7 separate regions of the Homo sapiens genome follow, and all the other regions are linked to region 3. Evidence: promoter capture Hi-C in 16 types of primary human blood cells and fetal thymus (Javierre and others, 2016). All regions are on one chromosome and are shown on one strand. The core of a region is centred on a gene start or on the middle of the fragment in contact, and the rest is flanking DNA. Distances in the headings are between cores, read along the strand shown. Region 1 overlaps WNT6 (Wnt family member 6). Region 2 overlaps PNKD (PNKD metallo-beta-lactamase domain containing). Region 3 holds the start of PLCD4 (phospholipase C delta 4). Region 4 has its middle 14 kb from the start of CXCR1. Region 5 holds the start of TRY-ATA1-1 (tRNA-Tyr (anticodon ATA) 1-1). Region 6 overlaps LINC01494 (long intergenic non-protein coding RNA 1494). Region 7 has its middle 14 kb from the start of CXCR1.

The links. The method cuts DNA at HindIII sites, captures the fragments that hold promoters and counts their contacts. A CHiCAGO score of 5 or more calls a contact.
Region 1: a fragment that was not itself captured here is called in contact with the fragment with the promoter of PLCD4 in region 3 in 1 of 17 cell types (M0 macrophages); the score reaches 5.2 in M0 macrophages.
Region 2: a contact is called between a fragment that was not itself captured here and the fragment with the promoter of PLCD4 in region 3, in 1 of 17 cell types (total CD8 T cells). The highest score is 5.6, in total CD8 T cells.
Region 4: a contact is called between a fragment that was not itself captured here and the fragment with the promoter of PLCD4 in region 3, in 1 of 17 cell types (erythroblasts). The highest score is 7.5, in erythroblasts.
Region 5: a fragment that was not itself captured here is called in contact with the fragment with the promoter of PLCD4 in region 3 in 1 of 17 cell types (erythroblasts); the score reaches 5.5 in erythroblasts.
Region 6: a contact is called between a fragment that was not itself captured here and the fragment with the promoter of PLCD4 in region 3, in 1 of 17 cell types (M2 macrophages). The highest score is 6.1, in M2 macrophages.
Region 7: a fragment that was not itself captured here is called in contact with the fragment with the promoter of PLCD4 in region 3 in 1 of 17 cell types (erythroblasts); the score reaches 5.3 in erythroblasts.

Annotation. Positions count from the first base shown.
Region 1 is chr2:218,871,279-218,874,589 of GRCh38, forward strand. It overlaps WNT6 (Wnt family member 6), which reads left to right. Exons shown (of 4, transcript NM_006522.4): 3 at 207-541; 4 at 2,106-2,955. The coding sequence ends at 2,567. It also overlaps a transcript of WNT10A not described here. Among named protein-coding and RNA genes, the nearest start is that of WNT10A, 7.9 kb to the right of the region's middle. RefSeq lists a silencer at 229-298 and an enhancer at 377-1,323. The HindIII fragment of the contact is 2,323 bases long and covers 884-3,206 here.
Region 2 is chr2:218,346,055-218,348,894 of GRCh38, forward strand. It overlaps PNKD (PNKD metallo-beta-lactamase domain containing), which reads left to right. Exons shown (of 10, transcript NM_015488.5): 10 at 1-739. All of the region lies in intron 2 of CATIP-AS2 (CATIP antisense RNA 2), which reads right to left. Among named protein-coding and RNA genes, the nearest start is that of MIR6810, 5.6 kb to the left of the region's middle. The HindIII fragment of the contact is 175 bases long and covers 1,280-1,454 here.
Region 3 is chr2:218,606,421-218,609,469 of GRCh38, forward strand. PLCD4 (phospholipase C delta 4) reads left to right here and starts at 1,479. Exons shown (of 16, transcript NM_032726.4): 1 at 1,479-1,650. The HindIII fragment of the contact is 12,670 bases long and covers 1-1,969 here.
Region 4 is chr2:218,179,679-218,182,517 of GRCh38, forward strand. No RefSeq gene overlaps it. Among named protein-coding and RNA genes, the nearest start is that of CXCR1, 14 kb to the left of the region's middle. The HindIII fragment of the contact is 1,429 bases long and covers 836-2,264 here.
Region 5 is chr2:218,243,316-218,246,348 of GRCh38, forward strand. It overlaps ARPC2 (actin related protein 2/3 complex subunit 2), which reads left to right. Exons shown (of 11, transcript NM_152862.3): 8 at 2,105-2,231. TRY-ATA1-1 (tRNA-Tyr (anticodon ATA) 1-1) reads left to right here and starts at 2,511; the gene lies at 2,511-2,603. The HindIII fragment of the contact is 698 bases long and covers 916-1,613 here.
Region 6 is chr2:218,920,020-218,923,242 of GRCh38, forward strand. It overlaps LINC01494 (long intergenic non-protein coding RNA 1494), which reads right to left. Exons shown (of 5, transcript NR_110238.1): 3 at 1,671-1,741. It overlaps LOC124906119 (a long non-coding RNA gene), which reads left to right. Exons shown (of 2, transcript XR_007088090.1): 2 at 542-705. Among named protein-coding and RNA genes, the nearest start is that of LINC01494, 9.0 kb to the right of the region's middle. The HindIII fragment of the contact is 1,408 bases long and covers 636-2,043 here.
Region 7 is chr2:218,151,862-218,155,033 of GRCh38, forward strand. No RefSeq gene overlaps it. Among named protein-coding and RNA genes, the nearest start is that of CXCR1, 14 kb to the right of the region's middle. The HindIII fragment of the contact is 250 bases long and covers 1,745-1,994 here.

The DNA.
Region 1 (3,311 bases), core at 795-3,294, 270 kb after region 3:
GCTTTCTCCCTGCTGTGGGACCCGAGGAGAGGAGAACTGGTTCGCTGAAGTTGCCTGAGCCCCACTTCCCCCTCACATGTGTCTGGGCACCCTGCAAGGACCCTGCCTCCCAGGCCCCTGGGGCAGCCCTCCCGCCGCAGGTTTCAGGTCCCAGGCCCCAGCTGACCGCCCCAGCCCGCGCTGATTGCACCTGTCTGCATTCACAGACATTCGGGAGACGGCCTTCGTGTTCGCCATCACTGCGGCCGGCGCCAGCCACGCCGTCACGCAGGCCTGTTCTATGGGCGAGCTGCTGCAGTGCGGCTGCCAGGCGCCCCGCGGGCGGGCCCCTCCCCGGCCCTCCGGCCTGCCCGGCACCCCCGGACCCCCTGGCCCCGCGGGCTCCCCGGAAGGCAGCGCCGCCTGGGAGTGGGGAGGCTGCGGCGACGACGTGGACTTCGGGGACGAGAAGTCGAGGCTCTTTATGGACGCGCGGCACAAGCGGGGACGCGGAGACATCCGCGCGTTGGTGCAACTGCACAACAACGAGGCGGGCAGGCTGGTGCGTACGGGCAGGATGGAGTGAGTGTGTGCGGAAATGTGAGTGTGCGCGCAGGAGTGTGCTTGAGGAAGTGTTGGCAGGAGTGAGGGTGTGTAGGTGGAGGGGGGCGTTAATGTGTGGGGGAGTGCGCACGGGCGGAAAGATGGGCTGCAAGCATGGATGGACATGTGGGAGGAGAGGTGTCCAGCCTCCAAGAAGGAGTCACGTGGGGGTCTGAGAAGGCCAGATGCTGGACGGTACAGCGGGCAGAATGGGGGAAGGGACACTCAGGGAATAGGACTGAGGGTCTTTAGTGACCCCAGGCAGAGAGGGCACAGCTTCAAGACAGGACAGGTGAAGCAAAGCTTGCAGTGGGTAGGAGGTCTGGATGCCTAGGCAGGGGCAGGAGAATAAAACAAAGGTGGGGATGAAAGACAGGATAGAAGCTAATGCAAGGTCTGGGGTTTTGGTACAGGGAAGCCAGGGGGAGTGAGAGAGGCCTAGAAAGAGTTAGAACAGGTCTGAGGGGCAATGGAAAAGAGCGAAGGACAAGGAACCAATCCTAGTGGAGGTTGGAGGGAGTCAGGTGGAGGCCAGGACAGCTGTGACCAATTCTGGGCATTTGCCAACTGGCTGCCCAGCAACACCAGCCCAGGTCTCACCTGCCCAGAGCCATGGCAGCCTCTCCTCTCCCCTCTGTAACGAGGAGAGCCCCAGGAGCTCTCATTCAGGGGCAAGAAGGTTGTCTGGGTGTGATGGTTCCAGGAGGGGGCAGGGCAGACTCAGGAGGTGGGAGTGGGACACATGGTCAGGTTAGCCCCTGGACTCTGAGCTTCCAGAAATGATTTTCTTGGGTCTTCTGAACCATCAGCGCTTGGTGGGTTTGGGAATCTTAGACCCTGCTTCAGACAGTGACTAGGGGAGAGGCCGCCTGGGTTCCACTCTCAGTACTGCATTCCCAGCGGGCCCTCCTGCACCCCATGCCTCCGTTCTAGCGTTCTCCAGGGACATCGCCATACATACCGTGTCCTCTAGGGTTCGGGCCTGAGGCATCGGGCAGGGGGAGGAGGGGGCCTGAAGAGGAATGTCCGGACAGGCCCACATACCTGCCGAGAGGGTTGGGGAGGGGTGACGGAGACAGATGCCCAGGAGGCTGGCTCTGCGTCTGTGCTCAGCCCGGCCTGGGGGCCGTGAGGGGTAGGAATGAGGGGGCCAGGTAGGCAGGAGAGCTAGACTTCGACAGCTGCCACCTCTCCCCTCCTCCAAAGAGAATCTCACCCCTGCTGTCCATTCTGCTTTCTCCCCCACCCCCTGCCTTTGGACCCTGGAATCTCTGCGCTGCATATTGTCCCCGTCTCCCCTCTTCGTCATCATCATATTCCTCCATCCTCACCATTCCTCCTGCTCCTCCCCTCCGAGTTGTCCTTTCCTTGATTTCCTCCCCCTGAACTTGCGGTCTCCTTTTGTCTGCATTTTCCTCTCTTCCTTTCACCTCCCATTCCCAATCTTATTTTCTGTCCATCCGCTGGGCCCTTCCCTGCACCCCCTACCTGTCCACATGCGTCCGCCCCTCTGCCTCCCGCAGGCCGTGCGGAGCCACACGCGCACCGAGTGCAAATGCCACGGGCTGTCGGGATCATGCGCGCTGCGCACCTGCTGGCAGAAGCTGCCTCCATTTCGCGAGGTGGGCGCGCGGCTGCTGGAGCGCTTCCACGGCGCCTCACGCGTCATGGGCACCAACGACGGCAAGGCCCTGCTGCCCGCCGTCCGCACGCTCAAGCCGCCGGGCCGAGCGGACCTCCTCTACGCCGCCGATTCGCCCGACTTCTGCGCCCCCAACCGACGCACCGGCTCCCCCGGCACGCGCGGTCGCGCCTGCAATAGCAGCGCCCCGGACCTCAGCGGCTGCGACCTGCTGTGCTGCGGCCGCGGGCACCGCCAGGAGAGCGTGCAGCTCGAAGAGAACTGCCTGTGCCGCTTCCACTGGTGCTGCGTAGTACAGTGCCACCGCTGCCGTGTGCGCAAGGAGCTCAGCCTCTGCCTGTGACCCGCCGCCCGGCCGCTAGACTGACTTCGCGCAGCGGTGGCTCGCACCTGTGGGACCTCAGGGCACCGGCACCGGGCGCCTCTCGCCGCTCGAGCCCAGCCTCTCCCTGCCAAAGCCCAACTCCCAGGGCTCTGGAAATGGTGAGGCGAGGGGCTTGAGAGGAACGCCCACCCACGAAGGCCCAGGGCGCCAGACGGCCCCGAAAAGGCGCTCGGGGAGCGTTTAAAGGACACTGTACAGGCCCTCCCTCCCCTTGGCCTCTAGGAGGAAACAGTTTTTTAGACTGGAAAAAAGCCAGTCTAAAGGCCTCTGGATACTGGGCTCCCCAGAACTGCTGGCCACAGGATGGTGGGTGAGGTTAGTATCAATAAAGATATTTAAACCACCAGGGCTGGACCCACAGTTTTGGGGGAGACTGATCTTCAGGCTGCCAGGCTCCAGAAGAAGGTGGTTTTGCTAGAACTAGCACCTCAGGGGCTATCACCTGGGTCCCTATCTCCCGACCAGGTTGGCCTCTCCTGGAAACTCGCTATCTCCCCTTGGCATTCTTCTTGTTCACTCCTGTCACACATCTAGGTCCTGGATCTGCAAGCTGGAGAAGAACTAGCAATTCCTCTTTAAAGGGACAGGGGCATCAGAAGCTTCTGATGCATACCTCTTGACACCCAACAATATTTCCTTCCTTCTGGTTCCTCTTGGGAAGCTACTGGTGAAAGTGAGGAGACAGAGGGCAGTTCTGGATTC
Region 2 (2,840 bases), core at 117-2,616, 260 kb before region 3:
CGTGCAGGTTGGAAATCAGAAGTCTGTGAGAGCGCGGGAGTGCATGGCAGCTCTGGGTCCCAGACCTGGCCCGACCCCTCTGCTTCACCTCCAGCTCTGCTGCTCCTCTACTCTTGGGTCGAGATCCCTTTGGAGCCACAGCGAGGAACCCTGTGGTCCTCAGGCAGGTGTACCTTGAGTCAGCCAGGAGCCCTCTTTTCCTGTGTCAAAGCCTGCCCTCGGGCTCTGCTCACCTCTGGTGACCCTCCAAGATGCCCCTGCCCTCAGTTTCCCCTCATGATCTGGCCTCTGCCCCCTTCTCTAGCCACAGCCTCTAGTACACTTTAGCAATACCACCAGACTAGTTAGAGTTCCCCACTCACCAAGCAAGACATGCAGTTTCATGCCTCTGTGCCTTCGCTCATGCTGTTTCTTCCGACTGGAATGCCTTCCCCTGCTCCTCCTGCCTTGTCTGCCTGGCAAGTTCATCTCTCACGATCCCCTCAAAGGCCCCCTCCTCCAGGAAGGCAACCCCTGTGCCCCTCCCCTCCAGGCTACCTCTGCACTTTGTCAATGCTTCTCTTGTGGCACTTATCACACTGTATTTTACTTGTTTACATGTTTGTCTCCCCTTCTAGACTGTGAATCCTTAAGGGCATGGACTGTATCTTATGCATCTCTGTATTTCTGCGCCTAGCACGGTGCCTAGCACACAGTAGGCGCTCAATAAATGTTGAATGAATGAATGATTTAATCAAGACTTGATCACCCAACAGCTTGTCTTTGTTGCTACATGAGTGAAAACAGCAGAGAACTTTCTCACAGTTTTCCCATCTCAGTTCCAGGCCTGCTAACTTGCAGTTAGGCACTTCAAGAGTTTTGATCAGAAATGATGCCCAAAGGCTGGGCGCAGTGGCTCACACCTATAATCCCAGCTCTTTAGGAGGCTGAGGCGGGTGGATCACAAGGTCAGGAGTTCGAGACCAGTCTGGCCAACATAGTGAAACCTCATCTGTACTACAAATACAAAAAATTAGCCAGACATAGTGGCAGGAGCCTATAATCCCAGCTACTCAGGAGGCTGAGGCAGGAGAATCACGTGAACCCAGGAGGCGGAGGTTGCAGTGAGCCGAGATCGCACCACTGCACTCCAGCCTGGGCGACAGAATGAGACTCTGTCTCAAAAAAAAAAAAAATTTTTTTAAAAAGAGAGAGAGAAATGATGCCTAAAATATGTTCTTCCCAAGGCCCATGGGCATTTGTTCAGGGTTTACGATTTGCTTATCTCAATGTTTCCCAAAGCTTGAGATACACAAGTGTACCACTGGCCAAAGTAGGGTGGCTGTACATGGCCACAGCACAGCAATCAATTGGACTTCAAGGACACGGTCTTGGCACTAGTCTGTCTTTAATGTCTTTGGAAAGAAAGACCCGGGATCCAGGTTCATACTTTAGTTGGGAAATGTCTGTAGTTAAGCTTTAACAACATCGTTTTGTTTTCATTATATTTATATTTGGGTTCAATATTTATTTTTGACAAGTGACACTGGTTTTCAGTTCATAAAAATGATTAAAGGGCCGGGCGTGGTGGCTCACGCCTGTAATCCCAGCACTTTGGGAGGCTGAGGCAGGCGGATCACGAGGTCAGGAGATCACGACCATCCTGGCCAACATGGTGAAACCCCGTCTCTACTAAAAATACAAAACTTAGCAAGGCATGATGGTGAGCGCCTGTAATCCCAGCTACCCAGGAGACTGAGGCACGAGAATCGCTGAACCCGGGAGGCAGAGGTTGAAGTAGGCCAAGATCGCACCACTGTACTCCAGCCTGGGCAACAGAGGGAGATTCTGTCCCAAAAAAAAAAAAGATGAAATTTGGGTGGGGACAAAAAGCCACACCATATCATTATAATAGAACAACTTATATTCCTTTGGGTATATAACCAGTAATGGGATTGCTGGGTCGAATGGTAGTTCTGTCTTTAGGTCTTTGAGGAAACACCACACTGTCTTCCACTTTGGTTGAACAAATTTACACTCCCGCCAACAGTGTATAAGCGTTCCTTTTACTCTACAACCTTTCCAGCGTCTGTTATTTTTTGACTTTTTAATAACAGCCATTCTGACTTGTGTGAGATGGTATCTCATTGTGGTTTTGATTTGCATTTCTCTAATGATGAGTGATGTTGAGCTTTTATTCATATGTTTGTTGTCCACATGTATGTCTTCTTTTATTTATTTATTTATTTATTTTTAATTGATCATTCTTGGGTGTTTCTCGCAGAGGGGGATTTGGCAGGGTTATAGGACAATAGTGGAGGGAAGGTCAGCAGATAAACAAGTGAACAAAGGTCTCTGGTTTTCCTAGGCAGAGGACCCTGCGGCCTTCCGCAGTGTTTGTGTCCCTGGGTACTTGAGATTAGGGAGTGGTGATGACTCTTAACGAGCATGCTGCCTTCGAGCATCTGTTTAACAAAGCACATCTTGCACCGCCCTTAATCCATTTAACCCTGAGTGGACACAGCACATGTTTCAGAGAGCACAGGGTTGGGGGTAAGGTCATAGATCAACAGCATCCCAAGGCAGAAGAATTTTTCTTAGTACGGAACAAAATGGAGTCTCCTATGTCTACTTCTTTCTACACAGACACAGCAACAATCTGATTTCTCTATCTTTTCCCCGCATTTCCCCCTTTTCTATTCCACAAAACCACCATCGTCATCATGGCCCGTTCTCAATGAGCTGTTGGGTACACCTCCCAGATGGGGTGGCCGCCAGGCAGAGGGGCTCCTCACTTCCCAGAAGGGGTGGCCGGGCAGAGGCGCCCCCCACCTCCCAACGGGGCGGCGGCCGGGCGGAGG
Region 3 (3,049 bases), core at 229-2,728:
TACGCCTGTAATCCTAGCACTTTGGGAGGCCAAGGCAGGTGGATTGCCTGAGCTCAGGAGCTCAAGACCAGCCTGGGCAACACGGTGAAACCCCGTCTCTACTAAAATACAAAAAAAAGTAGCTGGGGGTGGTGGCATGCACCTGTAATCCCAGCTACTCAGGAGGCTGAGACAGGAGAATTGCTTGAACCCGGGAGGTAGAGGTTGCAGTAAGCCAAGATCACGCCATTGCACTCCAGCCTGGGCAACAGCGAGACTCTTATCTCAAAAAAAAAAAAAAAAAAAAAAAAAAATATATATATATATATATATACACACACACACATATACATATACATATATGTATATTTAAAATCATTAAGCCTTCAAAAGTTAACACAGATATATGATATTTTAAATGAGACCTAAAAAAATAAATTTAAAAACACATATAGAAAATATATCAAGAGAATGTATAGCTTAATAAATTATTAAGTGAAGACCCTTGTTAGCACTTAGAACTAGAAATAGAGTTTAGCTAGCTATGCCAGAAGCCCCCTCTGTGTCCCATCTCACCACAATTCCTCCCCCTCCCAACAGTAACCACTATCCTGACTTTTATAGTAATCACTTAGGAGGATTTTATTTTAATGGGACTAAAAAATGTAGCTATAATCACTAATGGTAAAATATTAGGCAGTTGAGGGATGCTTGTGGAAACCATGATAGGCAGCCAGACGTCAGCACACTTAAAATTACACCATTTCACACAGTTCCCCTCTGAGCCTATGCTTCATCTCTGCACACATCTTTATAAACATGCATGTATGTCCTGAAGGTGCTACCTCCATTCTGAGGGCTATGACTTATAACCCAGAGGTGCTGAACAGATGCTTGTAGGAGGAACGAATGGATGTTTAAAAAAAAATGAGCTGTTTCACACGTTCATCTATGCATTCTTTCAATATTTAATGAGTGCCTAAAATATACATAGATTCTAACCTATCTGTCCCTCTACATTCTATCATCATTCCTGTCCTCCCCTTCTCCTCGTCTTCCTCTTTTCCCATCTTATTTCTTTCTTTTCCTGTGGGACGGAGCTACAGTGAGTGCCCTGCAGGCAGGATTCAGAGATACAGGAGCAGGCCAGTGGAAACAGACACTATGGAAAGGAGCCAGATTAAATAAGGGCAAAAACAGCCGTATTACATGCAGGAACCAGAATGAAAAGCAGTGATTCACAGAGCACTGCAACTGAGGACACTCCCTTCACTTTGAGAGCTACTGCGGGATTGGGGTCAATGAGGGCTGGCATCAAGATGAAGGGCAGCCAGGCTCCTCCCTGGAGATGTGCTGCCCTTAATCCTTCTCTCCCCACCCCACCCCCACTACTCCCTCACATTGACCAGTGTCCTGGGCCTTTAAGAGTTGGATGGGCTGGACTGGAGAGAGCTCACACCTCTCCCCTTCTTACTGCTTCCCTCCGGCTATAACTTGCCAGTCACAGCAGCCAGCTGCTGTAGAAGAGGGGAGGAAACAAGCCAGTGCAAGGGGAGCAAAAGAGAAAAGGAGCCAGGCTGGGCTTCCTGATCCCACAGCATCGCAGAGCTCGGGAGGCACAGCTCACAGACACAGGAAACACAGGACTGCTATTCTGCTCTCCTGCCCACGGTAAGGATCTGGAAGCTCTGACTACCCTCTGCTCTAAGCTCTGTCTTCCCTGAGTCCCTACCTCTGCCCTCTAGATGCTTATCCACCCTGATTAAATTGTACCCTAGACTCCTTTCCTCATCCCAACAGCTCTACAGGGCTCCCACCTCCTGGTTCTCTCTAGCTTATCCTCCTTTATCCTTACAGCTTTCCTCCTGGCTGTGTCAGTCGCCCTTTATATGAGGTACCTCTTAGCTTATGCAGGGCCAGAAGTGCCAACCCTAGCCACTCCTGAGGTGAACTCCACCCCCAATAAGGGAAGAAAAAATTGGAGTAGCTAAGCTTTAGCATAGATTCATTAACAGTTTGTTGAGGGTTGCAAAATAGGGGTTGGCCAAGAACCATGGGGAATCAGAGATCCCTGGTAATAGAGAGAGTTATGAAAGTCCCTTAGAAAGTTCTCTAAAGAACTTGTTCTTTGCCTATTCCATGGGCCAGAGCAGTTTCTTAGTGCACCAGAGTGCTACGTTGGTAAGAAAACCTACTTCTAGTTCTGCCTGTGCCATTAACTAGCTACGGGACCTGGAGCCACAACTTCCAGATCTGTGATACGAGAGAGTTTAGGGTTTCCCAGACTTGCCTGTGTACCAAGTGTACTTGTTAAAAATAAATATATTATTGAGCCCCACCCTGGGTAACTCTGATCTGGTAGATTTTTGGGTAGGGCTAAGGATCTCAATTTCAAGACATTCCAGAGGCTATTGATGTAGCTGGGAATGTCTGGATTAGATGTGTTATAAAAGAACTGGCCGGGCGCGGTGGCTCACACCTGTAATCCCAGCACTTTGGGAGGCCGAGGCGGGTGGATCACGAGGTCAGGAGATTGAGACCATCCTGGCTAACATGGTGAAACCCCGTCTCTACTGAAAATACAAAAAATTAGCCGGGCGAGGTGGGTGGCGGGTGCCTGTAGTCCCAGCTACTCGGGAGGCTGAGGCAGGAGAATAGCGTGAACCCCGGGGGGCGGAGCCTGCAGTGAGCCAAGATCGCACCACTGCACTCCAGCCTGGGCGACAGCGAGACTCTGTCTCAAAAAAAAAAAAAAAAAGAACCTTCAAGCTCCAACATTCTGTGACCTGTGACCAGAGCCAATTTGTCCTCTATATGAACCAGGTTAGGCATAATCCTTCTCAGAAGCAAGGGAGTAGACAAAATGATTCTCTTCTTTCTTGCCCCTCAGAGAGACCTGAGACACCCTGAATCCCACTGTAATCTCCTTGGTGCCATTGGTAACTCTGCCAAAGTCCATCTCTAGGTGACATGAAGTCTCTTAGAAATTGAGGACCAAATTGCGCTCTGCAGCTCTGGGCTACTTCCCATCTCATTTTGTGTCCCTATTTTCGTATCTGTATTAGAGAGG
Region 4 (2,839 bases), core at 300-2,799, 430 kb before region 3:
ATTACAAAGAACCTTCTTAAGGGTACGGGAGATTACAAAGTACATTGATCAGTTAGGGTGAGGCAGACACAAATCACAATGGTGGAATGTCATCAGTTAAGGGTATTTTTACTTCTTTTGTGGATCTTCAGTTACTTCAGGCCATCTGGATGTATACGTGCAAGTCACAGGGGATGCGATGGCTTGGCTTGGGCTCAGAGGCCTGACACTCATCCCTTGGAGGTAGCTTTGGTGCAGCCACAAGGCAGGTCAACATCAGGGCCCAGGCTCCCATGACAGTCTGAACTTGCCCCACAAGTATCCCTGTGCCCCAGGGGTTGCAACATTAAAAGCAAATAAGAAACACTCTGTCCAGTGAATACAGCGATGAAATGAGCTTAGAGATGCCACAAATTCTTTTTATCCCTTCAGCTCTCGATCTGCTCTTTCTTCTTGTTACTTGGGCTGCAGGGCATATGAAGATTACCCCAGAGGTTCAAGCAGTTCTTGTCATCTCTGAAAAGATGGGGGGATGTGAAATATCCCCACCTTAACACAGTGGTTATGATTTGTCAAAGAATGTTTCGTGCCTCAAACACCAACCTGTTAGCAATGTAGCACTGTTTGATCTTGGGCACTTGTGGCATTGCCTGGCACTCAGTCTTCAGGGTCCATGACCGAGAATGCTCTTCTCAGATGCCCCTGCTCAAATGAGAGGCATGCTGGCGTCCAGAGGCCTCATATTGGACTCAGATCTAACGTGCTGGCCTCAGAGGAGGACTCGAAGAAAACGAGAGCAAAAACTACCCTCCAGCCTCATCGTGTCTCAAATGACCCCACTTCATACCAGTCACAAAGCTTGGGAAAATGGGTCCCCCAACACCGTTTCCTAAGCCCTGAGACTCTCCAAGAGAAGAATGCCTGGGGTTGGGAAGGGAACTATGTCCCTTGCTCACCATCCCTCAGGCACGTGGGCAACAGGAGATAGCACAGGATTGTGTATGGGAGGTGGACAGTCAGTGATGTAACTACCCAAGGGGTTCACCTTGCGCGCTGCCTAGATGGAGCCAATTCCTCAAGACAGAGGAACTGCAATGGAGAAAGAGGAATTCACACAGAGCTAGCTGTGTGGAAGACTGGGGTTTTATTATTACTCCAGTCAGTCTGGAACAAGCAGGGAGCAGAGTTTTTAAGGAAAACTTGGTGGGTGGGGAAAGCCAGTGAGCGAGGAGTGCTGATTGGTCAGGGACGAAATCATAGGGAGTCGAAGCTGTCATCTTGTGCTGAGTCAGTTCCTAGGTGGGGGCCACAAGTTCAGATGAGCCAGTTTATGATCTGGGTGGTGCAGCTGATCCATCAAGTGCAGAGTCTGCAAAATGTCTCAAGCACTGATCTTAGGAGCGGTTTAGGGAGGGTCAGAATCTTGTAGCCTCCAGCTGCATGACTCCTAAATTATAATTTCTAATCTTTTGGCTAATGTTAGCCCTACAAAGGCCGTCTAGTCCCCAGGCAAGAAGGTCTGCTTTGGGAAAGGGCTGTTATCGTCTTTGTTTTAAACTATAAACTCTAAACTGAGTCTCTATCAAAGTTAGTTCAGCCTATGCCCAGAAATAAACAATGACAGCTTGGAGGTTAGCAGCAAGATGGAGTTGATTAAGTTAGATCTATTTCACTGTCTCAGTCATAATTTTCCAAAGGCAGTTTCAGTGATGTGTGGGGTGAAAAAGCAGGTGATAAAGTTCCCTTGTTGGGACTCTTTTGTGGAATCAATGGCTATAAATGGTGAAGAACGTTCGCACTGCAAATACAGTGTTCTCATCTCAAAGCAAACTATACTTCCCAAGGAAACCATGTATGTCAGGGCAAGAGGACAACACCATTTTGTATCAGGATGTGTCCCTCATGCCCTGAAGCGAGGCTTCTCTTAGCTTCCCCACCAGTGACAGGTAACAGCTCCTGTTCTCAGCTGCCCTGGCTGAGCTAATCCATGAATGCTTACCTCCCTGAGGAGGCTGCCTCACATCACACCCCTGAGCGGAGGAAGTATCCTACTTCCTATCAAAGGACCTCTCTGCCAACAAACAGAACTGTTGCCTCTGCCACAGCTCTTTTGGCCAAACTGGGGATGTCCGGTGGGAGTTGCCCCACATTCCCCTCTCCTCTGCTTCTGAATGCCTTTGTCATACAAAGGGCAAGGGAAGCCAACATCCAGAGCTCTTTTGCTGGTCAGAGATTCCCCGAGTGTCTGTCCTTACCCCAGTCTGCTGCATGTGTCTGTGTCATAAAGCTTGGGACTCTGGTGGGAAATGGGGAAACGAGGATAGGTAAATGTTGCCCTAAGAATGAGTCTCATTCCTCTGTTCTTGTTGGGATGTGTTCTTGGGAAGGGTGGGAATTGGGGGAAGCTTGACTTTGTGTCTTCATCAATAAACTTATTTACACACACAGACACACATACACACACATCCCCACACCTTTTTCCAGTCAAGGGCAAGACAAAGGAAGAAAGGAAAAAGCTTTCTCCAGCATTTAAACAAGGGGCCTGGCCAGGCACAGTGGCTGATGCCTGTAATCCCAATGCTTTGGGAGGCTGAAGCAGGTGGATCACTTGAGTCCAGAAGTTTGAGACCAGCCTAGGCAACATGGCGCAACCCTGTCTCTACAAAAATACAAAAATTAGCCAGGCATGGTGGTGTGTGCCTGTAGTCCCAGCTACTTGCAGGGCTGAGGCATGACGATTGCTTGAGCCCAGGGAGTTGAGGCTGTAGTGAGCCATGATCAAGCCATTGCACTGCAGCCTGGGTAACAGAGCAAGACCCTGTCTCAAAAAAAAAATTTTTTTTAATTTTAATTTTAAAAA
Region 5 (3,033 bases), core at 15-2,514, 360 kb before region 3:
CTGATGCTCAAAAGACATCCTAGCCAGAAGGAGAGTAAAAAGGCAATATTGCTTGATTACGTATAACAAAGATGCCAATGAAGATGGAGGGCTGTTTGGGTGTGTTTGTTTGTTTAAGCTTTATTTAGGAGAGAGAACTGAGGAGAAGCAAAGACATCAGAGAATCTAAAGAATAGTCCCAGTCAGGCACAGTGGCTCACGCCTGTAATCCCAGCACTTTGCGGGGCCTAGGCAGGTGGATCACTAGAGGCCAGTTTGAGACCAGCCTGGCCAACATGGTGAAACCCTGTTTCTACTTTAAAGGCCAAAAATTAGCCGGGAATGATGGCACACGCCTGTAATCTCAGCTACTCGTGAGGCTGACACATGAAAATCACTTGAACCTAGGAGGTGGAGGTTGCAGTGAGCCAAGATCACGCCACTGCACTCCAGCCTGGGTGACAGAGTGAGACCCTGTCTCAAAAAAGAAAGAAAGAATAGGCCCAAGCCAGAAACGTATCGTTGACCGAGCCTTAAATATGTTATTTTCCATATACAAAACTAATGAGTGCTAATAAGTCACCACTGGTTTATAAATACCCCATCTCATTGTGAATACCACATGTACCTGTGAATTAGAGCCTTGGAGACACTTAACAGACACAAGAAAATGCCAACAGTTACGTATCTGTTCTGTTTAATTCCTTAATACCGAAAAGTAAAACCAGTAAAAGTTAAAAAGCTTCTTAACCCCTTTGTAGAATAAAAAATGTTTTCTAGAGAAGGGCGATTTTAGAAGCTTTGCTCTAGAAATTTCCATTTGGGATAATCTTGACTCCTTCCCTTCCTTTTTGGATATTTTTCCTTCGGGGAACAAAATCTGTTCAAAAGGGGACTAATCTAACCCAGTTGATGGTCATTTCTTTTCCTACTTAAAGCTTGGTAGTGTTAGCATGAGAGGCAGTTTGTGAAATAGGTGAGGTCCCAGGCTGGGCATTGGGGCTCCTCAGCCATCATCTTTCTTTTGCCACTAATTGTCGAGAGGGCTTGCTAATCAGTGTTTATTCTTCCTGCCTGCAACTGGAAACAGCCCTTGCCTATTCCTGTACAGTGTGATGATACTAAACCAGCTAGGGTAGAAGCACTTGCTTTCTCTCAGCAAGGCATGTGCTGCATAGCCTCTTTGAAAGACAGAAGAATAAATTACAAAGATAAATTAAGCAGGATCTTTGATTTGAACTCATAACCTGGTAGGGGAGCCAGATACATTAATGAATGGTAAAATATCATAGTAGAGGTTTGTAGAAAAGACATGGCAGCTCCAGCAAGAGAGCAGTACCTGCCTGGGTTTGTTGGAGATGGTATTAGGAGGCAGTATTTGAGCAGCAGTAGAAGGGCACGCAGGCCACATGGCTGTGTAACCATGCCTTCAGAACTCCTAAAACAAGAGACCTTGGAGAGTCCTTGGCAGCATCCTCCTGCTGTCTATCATCTTGGAAGGCCCACTTGATGAATTTGGATTATCCAGTTTTACTGGCATTGCTAGAAAATCTACTTCTGTTCTTGCAGATCTGGCTGAGAGAGAGAAGCCTTGTATTACTTGTCTATTTACATAGGAATGTATGGACTGTAGAAGCTTCAGGTTTGGAGATTGGAACATAGAAGGAAGGGCTTCCTTTATGAGCACCAAGACAACTCAGCTTCTTTCATTCCATTGTCTTCTGTCCGCAAGAAGAGCTTAAGTTTGCTCTAAAGATTTTATTGATGAATTCTAAATAGCAACAGGATCCTCAGTGAAAAAAGACTCATGCAAAGTCCCAGAGCCCAGAGAAAGTATGGTAGTTTATCACCTATGTTAGTGCAAAGGAAAAGGATTATCACTACTTTTCATCACATTTTGAAGATCTGACTTATTAAGTACTTTGCAGTCTCTCCCGTTTGAATCTGAAGTGTAGTGGTAGCAGCTAGCACTTGTCATATTTCAGGTTTGGTGTAGTTTATTTTTAACCTCCTGCTGGTCTGGAGGGCTACAAAGGTCACACCACATAGAACAAACCCTATAGCTTGAGTTGCCACTCATCTTACACCCACTTCTCTTCTGGTTGCTTTTGCTTTGTCTTGGCAGGAGTTCAAAGAAGGACGCAGAGCCAGCCACACAGCCCCACAGGTCCTCTTTAGCCACAGGGAACCTCCTCTGGAGCTGAAAGACACAGACGCCGCTGTGGGTGACAACATTGGCTACATTACCTTTGGTGAGCAGGGTGCACTTGCTGCTTTTGTGCCGCTTTAATGAGTTCACACAGCAGAATACCTAAATCTGCACAGAACCTTGGTTAACATTTTAAGGTAGGCAAACGCAGGCATACCAACTTGTTCCTGTTGCCATTGCAGTGACTAAAGGAGGGATGTCACAGGGTATTAATTACAGAGCAGGCCATATGCTATTTTTGTACAGTAATCCTTTCCTTTTTTTCCCCATTTTTCTTAAATCTTAAAAATAAGACTGAATTCTGATATCAAGAGTTAAGGTCCCTTCAATAGTTCAGCTGGTAGAGCAGAGGACTATAGCTACTTCCTCAGTAGGAGACGTCCTTAGGTTGCTGGTTCGATTCCAGCTTGAAGGAGACAAGTACAGTTTTGGCTGGGCACGGTGGTTCATGGCTGTAATCACAGCACTTTGGGAGGTTAAGGCAGGTGGATCACGAGGTCAGGAGATCAAGATCATCCTGGCCAATGTGGTGAAACTCTGTCTCTACTAAAATACAAAAAAAAATTAGCTGGGCATGGTGGCGCACGTCTGTAGTCCCAGGTACTCCAGAGGCTGAGGCAGGAGAATTGCTTGAACCCGGGAGGTGGAGGTTGTAATGAGCTGAGATCGTGCCACTGGACTCCAGCCTGGGCAACAGAACAAGACTCTTGTCTCCAAAAAAAAAAAAAAAGAGTTGAGGCTGGGTGCGGTGTCTCACGCCTGTAATCCTAGCACTGTGGGAGGCCAACATGGGCAGATCACCTGAGGTCAGGAGTTCGAGACCAGCCTGACCAACATGGTGAAAC
Region 6 (3,223 bases), core at 90-2,589, 310 kb after region 3:
TAGTAGTCACGTGTTTGCTATTATTGTTATTTTATTACCCACATATTATAGCATGCATCCTTGGCTTAATTAGGTCACCCTTGAATTAGTACTTTCACCCTTTTCTAAATAACTCTAGGGACCTTATGACACTTTAATTCATTTTAGCATTCTCCTGGCTTTCATGTTATTGTTGTCATGTATTTTTTTTTTTTTTGAGACAGAGTCTTGCTATGTTGCCCAGGCTGGCCTTCAACTCCTAGGGACAATGGATCTGCCCTCCTCAGCCTCCCGAGTAGCTGAGATTACAGGAATGTGCCACCACACCTGGCTACAGCAAGGCTTTTGACAAAAATGGTTGAAAGAATTCAAAACTGAGGATCCTAGTGCTGAGGGTGGGATATTTTGTGTTATTGGTCAGTAAGAATGTCTCTTACTTGAGATATGAATCCTGAAGGTGGTAAGAGTTGATTTATTTAGACAGAGTTAATTTTAATTAGTGAAAACTGAAGAACTGACTTGTATTTTGGTCTGACGTATGATTGTTTCAACTTTGCTGCAGTAGCACCTACAAGAGGACCAACATTCTCCAGGAAATTCTGTCCTTTAAAACCATGAGATGAATAATCTTGGTCTGGAAGATATTCATAGAAAGAAGCTTAGAATGTTTGATTTTTGAGCATGAATTAACTGTACAGTCATCAATTAAATAAGCTGATCCACTGAGTAATTGTTGAGATGATCCTTCTGGATGCTGAATAATGCTAGCCTAGAATGGGGATTTGACATTGATATATTCTTTCCTATTAACAAATCCAGTTTTCTTTCTTCCTCCCATCCTCCCTCCTTCTTTCTTTCTTCCTTTCTTTTCCTTTCATTTGCCTTCCTTTCCTTCCTTCCCTTCCCTTTCACAATATTTTACTTTAAAAAAATTATGAAATCCATCATGTACACTTCAATGTGTTAAATATATATGTACATTTTAAAGATTAATAGTCCAGTGAACATCTGTGTACCCACTACTCAGGGTGAGAAACAAATATAACGATGGTCTCGTGTGTTCCTTGTGGGCTCTTCCCCAATTCTTCCTTCTCCACAGAGACCACTTCCACCTGCCTTCTGTGGTAGTTATCTTATAATCCTCTTCATAATTTCTTTCTTTTTTTTTTTTTTTGAGATGGAGTCTCGCTCTGTCGCCCAGGCTGGAGTGCAGTGGCATGATCTCAGCTCACTGCAAGCTCTGCCTCCTGGGTTCATGCCATTCTCCTGCCTCAGCCTCCCGAGTAGCTGGGACTACAGGCACCCGCCACCACGCCTGGCTAATATTTGTATTTTTAGTAGAGACTGGGTTTCACCGCATTAGCCAGGATGGTCTCGATCTCCTGACCTCGTGATCCGCCCGCCTTGGCCTCCCAAAGTGCTGGGATTACAGGCGTGAGCCACCGTGCCTGGCCCCTCTTCATAATTTCTAACACCTCTGAATTCTTCTACTGTATATATATATATATATATACACACACACACACACACACACAATTATATATATTTATATATACATTATATATATACATTATAATGTGTATATATATAATGCATATATATAGTAGAAGAATTTACTTTCTATATAGTAAATTTTGTGTATACACACACATACACATACAAAACTGGATCAGTAAGGAATTTACACTTACTTCTTTAGATGAAGACCCCCAGGAGAGGGTAAGATGACAGAGTCTCTGGGTCAGAAGTGACCTCATTTTCCCTGAAAGTTTACAGGGCAAAGTCACAAGTGAGTCTGTTATGTTTGGGGTGTTTGTCCTCTTCAAATCTCATGTTGAAATGTAACCGTCACTGTTAGAGGTGAGACCTGGTGGGAGGTGATTTGATCATGGGGGTGGATCCTTCACAAATGGCTTAGCACCATTTCTTGGTGATGTTCTCTCCCAGTTAGTTCACATGAGAACTGGTTGTTTAAAAGAATCTGAGACCTCCCCCTTCTCTCTTTTGCGCCCTCTCTTCACCATGTGATGTGCTGGCTCCCCTTCACTTTGTGCCATGATTGAAAGCTTCCTGAGGCCTTCACAAGAAGCTGATGCTGGCACCATGCTTCCTGTACAGCCTGCAGAAACGTGAGCCAAATCAAAGCCTGTTTTCTTTATAAATTACCTAGTCTCAGGTATTTCTTTATAGCAGCACAAGAATGGACTAACACAGAGTCTGTGGGAAATAGGACTCAAAAAATTGGTGGCAGGGTGAAGTGTCACCCAAATACTGGCCATCAGGCAGGAATATGGTCAGGGGGAGTAGGCTGCTCTTATTTTCTCACTCAAAGTTCCCACAGCCTACTTTCAGCTCTCGGGAATGGGTGAGAACAAAACATTTTTGTGGGAGTGAAATAAATATCTTTAGATAATCCACGTAGGAGGGTAAGGAGGGAATAACAGGAACTTCATCAACACATGATATATTAATCCATTTTAACTATAAAGAACTACCTGAGACTGAGTAATTTATGAAGAAAAGAGGTTTAATTTCCTCACATTTCCACAGGCTTAACAGGAAGCATGGCTGGTAACTTACAATTGTGGTGGAGGGGTTAGGGGAATCAAGCATGTCTTACCGTGGTGGAGCAGGAAAGAGCGAGAGTGAAGAGGGAAGTGCCACACACTTTTGAACAACCAGATCTTGTGAGAACTCACTCTCACAAGAATAGCAAGCGGGAACTCCACCCCAATGATTCAATCACCTGCCACCAGGCCCCTCCCCCCACATGTGGGGATTACAATTCGAAATGAGATTTGGGTGAGGACAGAGCCAAACCATATCATTCCACCCCTGGCCCCTCCAAAATCTCATGTCATCACATTTCAAAGCCAAGCATGCCTTCCCAACAGTCCCCCAAAGTCTTAACTCATTCCAGCATTAACTCAAAAGTCTAAGTCCAAAGTCTCATCTGAGACAAGGCAAGCCCCTTCCGCCTATGAGCCTGTAAAATAAAAAACAAGTTAGTAACTTCCAAGATACAATGGAAATACAGGAATTAGGTAAATGCTCCCATTGCAAAGGGGGAAATTGGCCAAAACCAAGGGACTACAGGTCCTATGCAAGATCAAAACCTGGCAAGGAAGTCATTAAATCTTTTTTTTTTTTTTTTTTTTTGGAGACAGAGTCTTGCTCTGTCACCCAGGGTGGAGTGCAGTGGTGCTATCTTGGCTCACTGCAACCTCCACCTTCTGGGTTCAAG
Region 7 (3,172 bases), core at 620-3,119, 450 kb before region 3:
GGGTGGATCAGGCACTGCAGGGGGATTCAACCAAATAGAAGGAGCAGAGGCCACCTCCTCCCTGGACATCAGATGAGAGACAGGGAGGAGAGGAGAGTAAGTGTGGATGCTGGTGAGGCGTCAAATTGCTGAGGAGCCTCCGGCCCAGCAGCCTTAGTTTCTTAGGTCAATGGGAGGCAACTAGCTGAGAGAGAAAGCAAGACCATGCACAACCTTGGGATGGCAAGCTAGAGAGGAAAGTGACCAAAATAACAAGAGGCCAGGAGAAAGCCGGAGAAAATCACTAAGTGGGAGGAATATAACAGGCAAGGAAATGTTAAATATGATAATAACATGAAATCAAAGCATGATGTAGGCTGATTTTTAAAAATGAAAAAAGATTGAAACATAATAACATGAAAACTGCATTAAATTATTCAACGAAAATAGTATGAACCTAAGCTGTACTGACAAGACATTGTGATGCTATGACACATGACATTGAAACATTCAAGAAGAAATACCGCAATGAAAAAATGTGGCTGGGCGCAGTGGCTCACACCTTTAATCTCAGTACTTTGGGAAGCCGAGGCGGGTGTATCACCTGAGGTCAGGAGTTCAAGACTATCCTGGCCAACATGGTGAAATCCCATCGCTACTAAAAATGCAAAAATTAGCCGGGCATGATGGCAGGTGCCTGAAATCCCAGCTACTCGGGAGGCTGAGGCAGGAGAATCGCTTGAACCCAGGAGGCAGAGGTTGCAGTGTGCCGAGATCACACCATTGCACTCCAGCCTGGGCGAGAAGAGCAAAATTCTAACTCAAAAGAAAAAAAAAAGTAAAGTAAAGAAAAATTACTAGAAGGTTTTCTGTTCAATTTTGCTGTGAACCTAAAACCACTCTGAAAAATCAACTCTTTATTGTTTTTTAATGCTAGAAGGCAATAAACCAAAATGTGCACTGGGTTGACTTTGAGTGGTGGAAATATGAGTGCTTTTTTTCTTTTTTTACCCTTTTTTTGGCTCTTTCTGTGTTCACACTCTGTACCTGTGTACCCCATGAGTCAGCCTGTGACTCAGCACCTCAGGTAGCCTTCCAAGGTCCCTCCTCCCACATGCATCCCTGAGGCTGCCTGTACCCATTTGCCAAGTTTGCCTCCACCCTCTACCAGTTCCAACCCGGCCACCTGCAGGGGAACAGGGCCAGGTTTCCCTGAGTGTGTTGCTGGCACTGCCAAAATCTCCCCAGTTTTTTTCACTTTCACTCCCAGCCCCATCTCCCTACTACTTAGGTGAGAAGCCCTGGACCTGGGTTGGTCTTGGCCTCAGCACTCAACTCCTGTAGCCCTCAAGGTCTCCCTAAGCCCCAACCCTGAGGCATTGCCTTTAGCAGGCCTGTGTGCTTTCCTCCTGACCCCCAGAAATGAGCTCCTCCCTAAGAGCTCTCAACCCTTCATTTCTTTCAGGGACATTGCTTGCACTGACTTACGTGAATTCCAGAGTGAGCCCAGTTTAGGTTCAAACTGAGACTCTGCTCAATGTTGCTAATCTCCCCTCACAGACTTGAAGCACCCTTTGAGCAGTGGGCCTCAGACCTTAGCTGCAAAGTGGAGCAGAAAAATAGGACCGTAGCTGATGAGATGTGGGATCAAGGGAGGGTTGTTATAAGATGGGAACTCCTACAACAGGCTTGTGAGCTGATGGGCAATCCAGAAGAGAAAAAAATGGATGTCACAGGAACAAGGATATACCTTGATCACTTTCCAAGCTTTATCTTTTCATCTCAAAACATCTCTTGGAAAGAGGTATATCTCAACTCTCCTCCCAACTCCCTGGAGCTATGACATCATGTAGGAAACACTGCCATCACAGTTAGAGGATTTGGAGTTACATCCCGATTTCCCAGTGGACTTGCCTTTCCAAGACTTCTCTGCTGTGATAAATAATGTTTGCCATTTATGGAGACCTTAGTCTACCCTGAAAGCCTGGCATACATTACCCTGAACCTTGACAACAAGCTTCCAATGCTGCCATCCCTTCAAGGAGGGAGGGGTCCAGAGAAGTTAAATTACTTGCTCACGATCACACAAGTCGGGATAGACTAAGCCCTAGGCTACCGCAAATTCACCCTGTGGCTCTCTCTCCACCACAGCACCTCTCTGTGTGTCACACAGCAGTTGAGAGCTCAGACTCCGAAGGCAGCTGGTCCTTGACTTAAACTCCAGTTTTGCCACTTACCCGCTGCTGTTATCTTGAGTGAGGGACTTAATCTCTTTGGCCCTTATTTTCCTCTTCTGTAAAATAAGGATAATAATAATTCCTACCATCAGGTCTTGATGACCATTAAATAAAATAATTTATGTAAAAAGTGTTTTTTTCAGTGCCTGGCACAGAGTAAGTCTTCAATTATGATATCACGGGAAACACACTATACATATAAGGATTTAGATAAGGGTTCTCCTTGTGTTGTAGAATCTAAAATAGAATTCAGGGATCAAAGTGACAATTTCATGGAAATAGGGCGGAAGCAGCTGATCTTTGGGTCTTTTTTTTTTGGGGGGGGGGGGACAGAGTCTCACTCTGTCACCCAGGCTGGAGTGCAGTGGTGCGATCTCAGCTCACTGCAACCACCACCTCTTGGGCTCAAAGCGATTCTCCTGCCTCAGCCTCCCCAGTAGCTGGGAATACTACAGGTGTGCGCCACCATGCCTGGCTAATTTTTGTATTTTTAGTAGAGAAAGGGTTTTGCCATGTTGGCCAGGCTGGTCTCAAACTCCTGACCTCAAGTGATCCACCCGCCTCAGCCTCCCAAAGTGCTGGGATTACAGGTGTAAGCCACTGCACCCGGCCTGGGTGCCTTTCAACAACTCGTTGCTCTTCCCTTGCAACAAAGCCCTCAGGAATCCCAGATTGCTCCTCTCTCTGTCTCCTTGCAAAATCTTCCAACAGATTAATGTTAGCATCTAAGTCCAAAGTGCGGTCCTACCAGTGAGCACAGACCTACCTGTTAGTGAGAGGCTGAGCTTACACGTTGGACTGGAGTGTGCCCATTTGCTCATGAAGTTGAAGGCTTAGAAAAGAGGATCCTATGCTGGAGAACAATTTCAAAACTCCATTCTCATCCCTGGCTTAATGACTGAAAGAATTCCCCCAACCCAGGGGCATTTGCTCTTTTTCTAAGAGGCCTGCCTAGG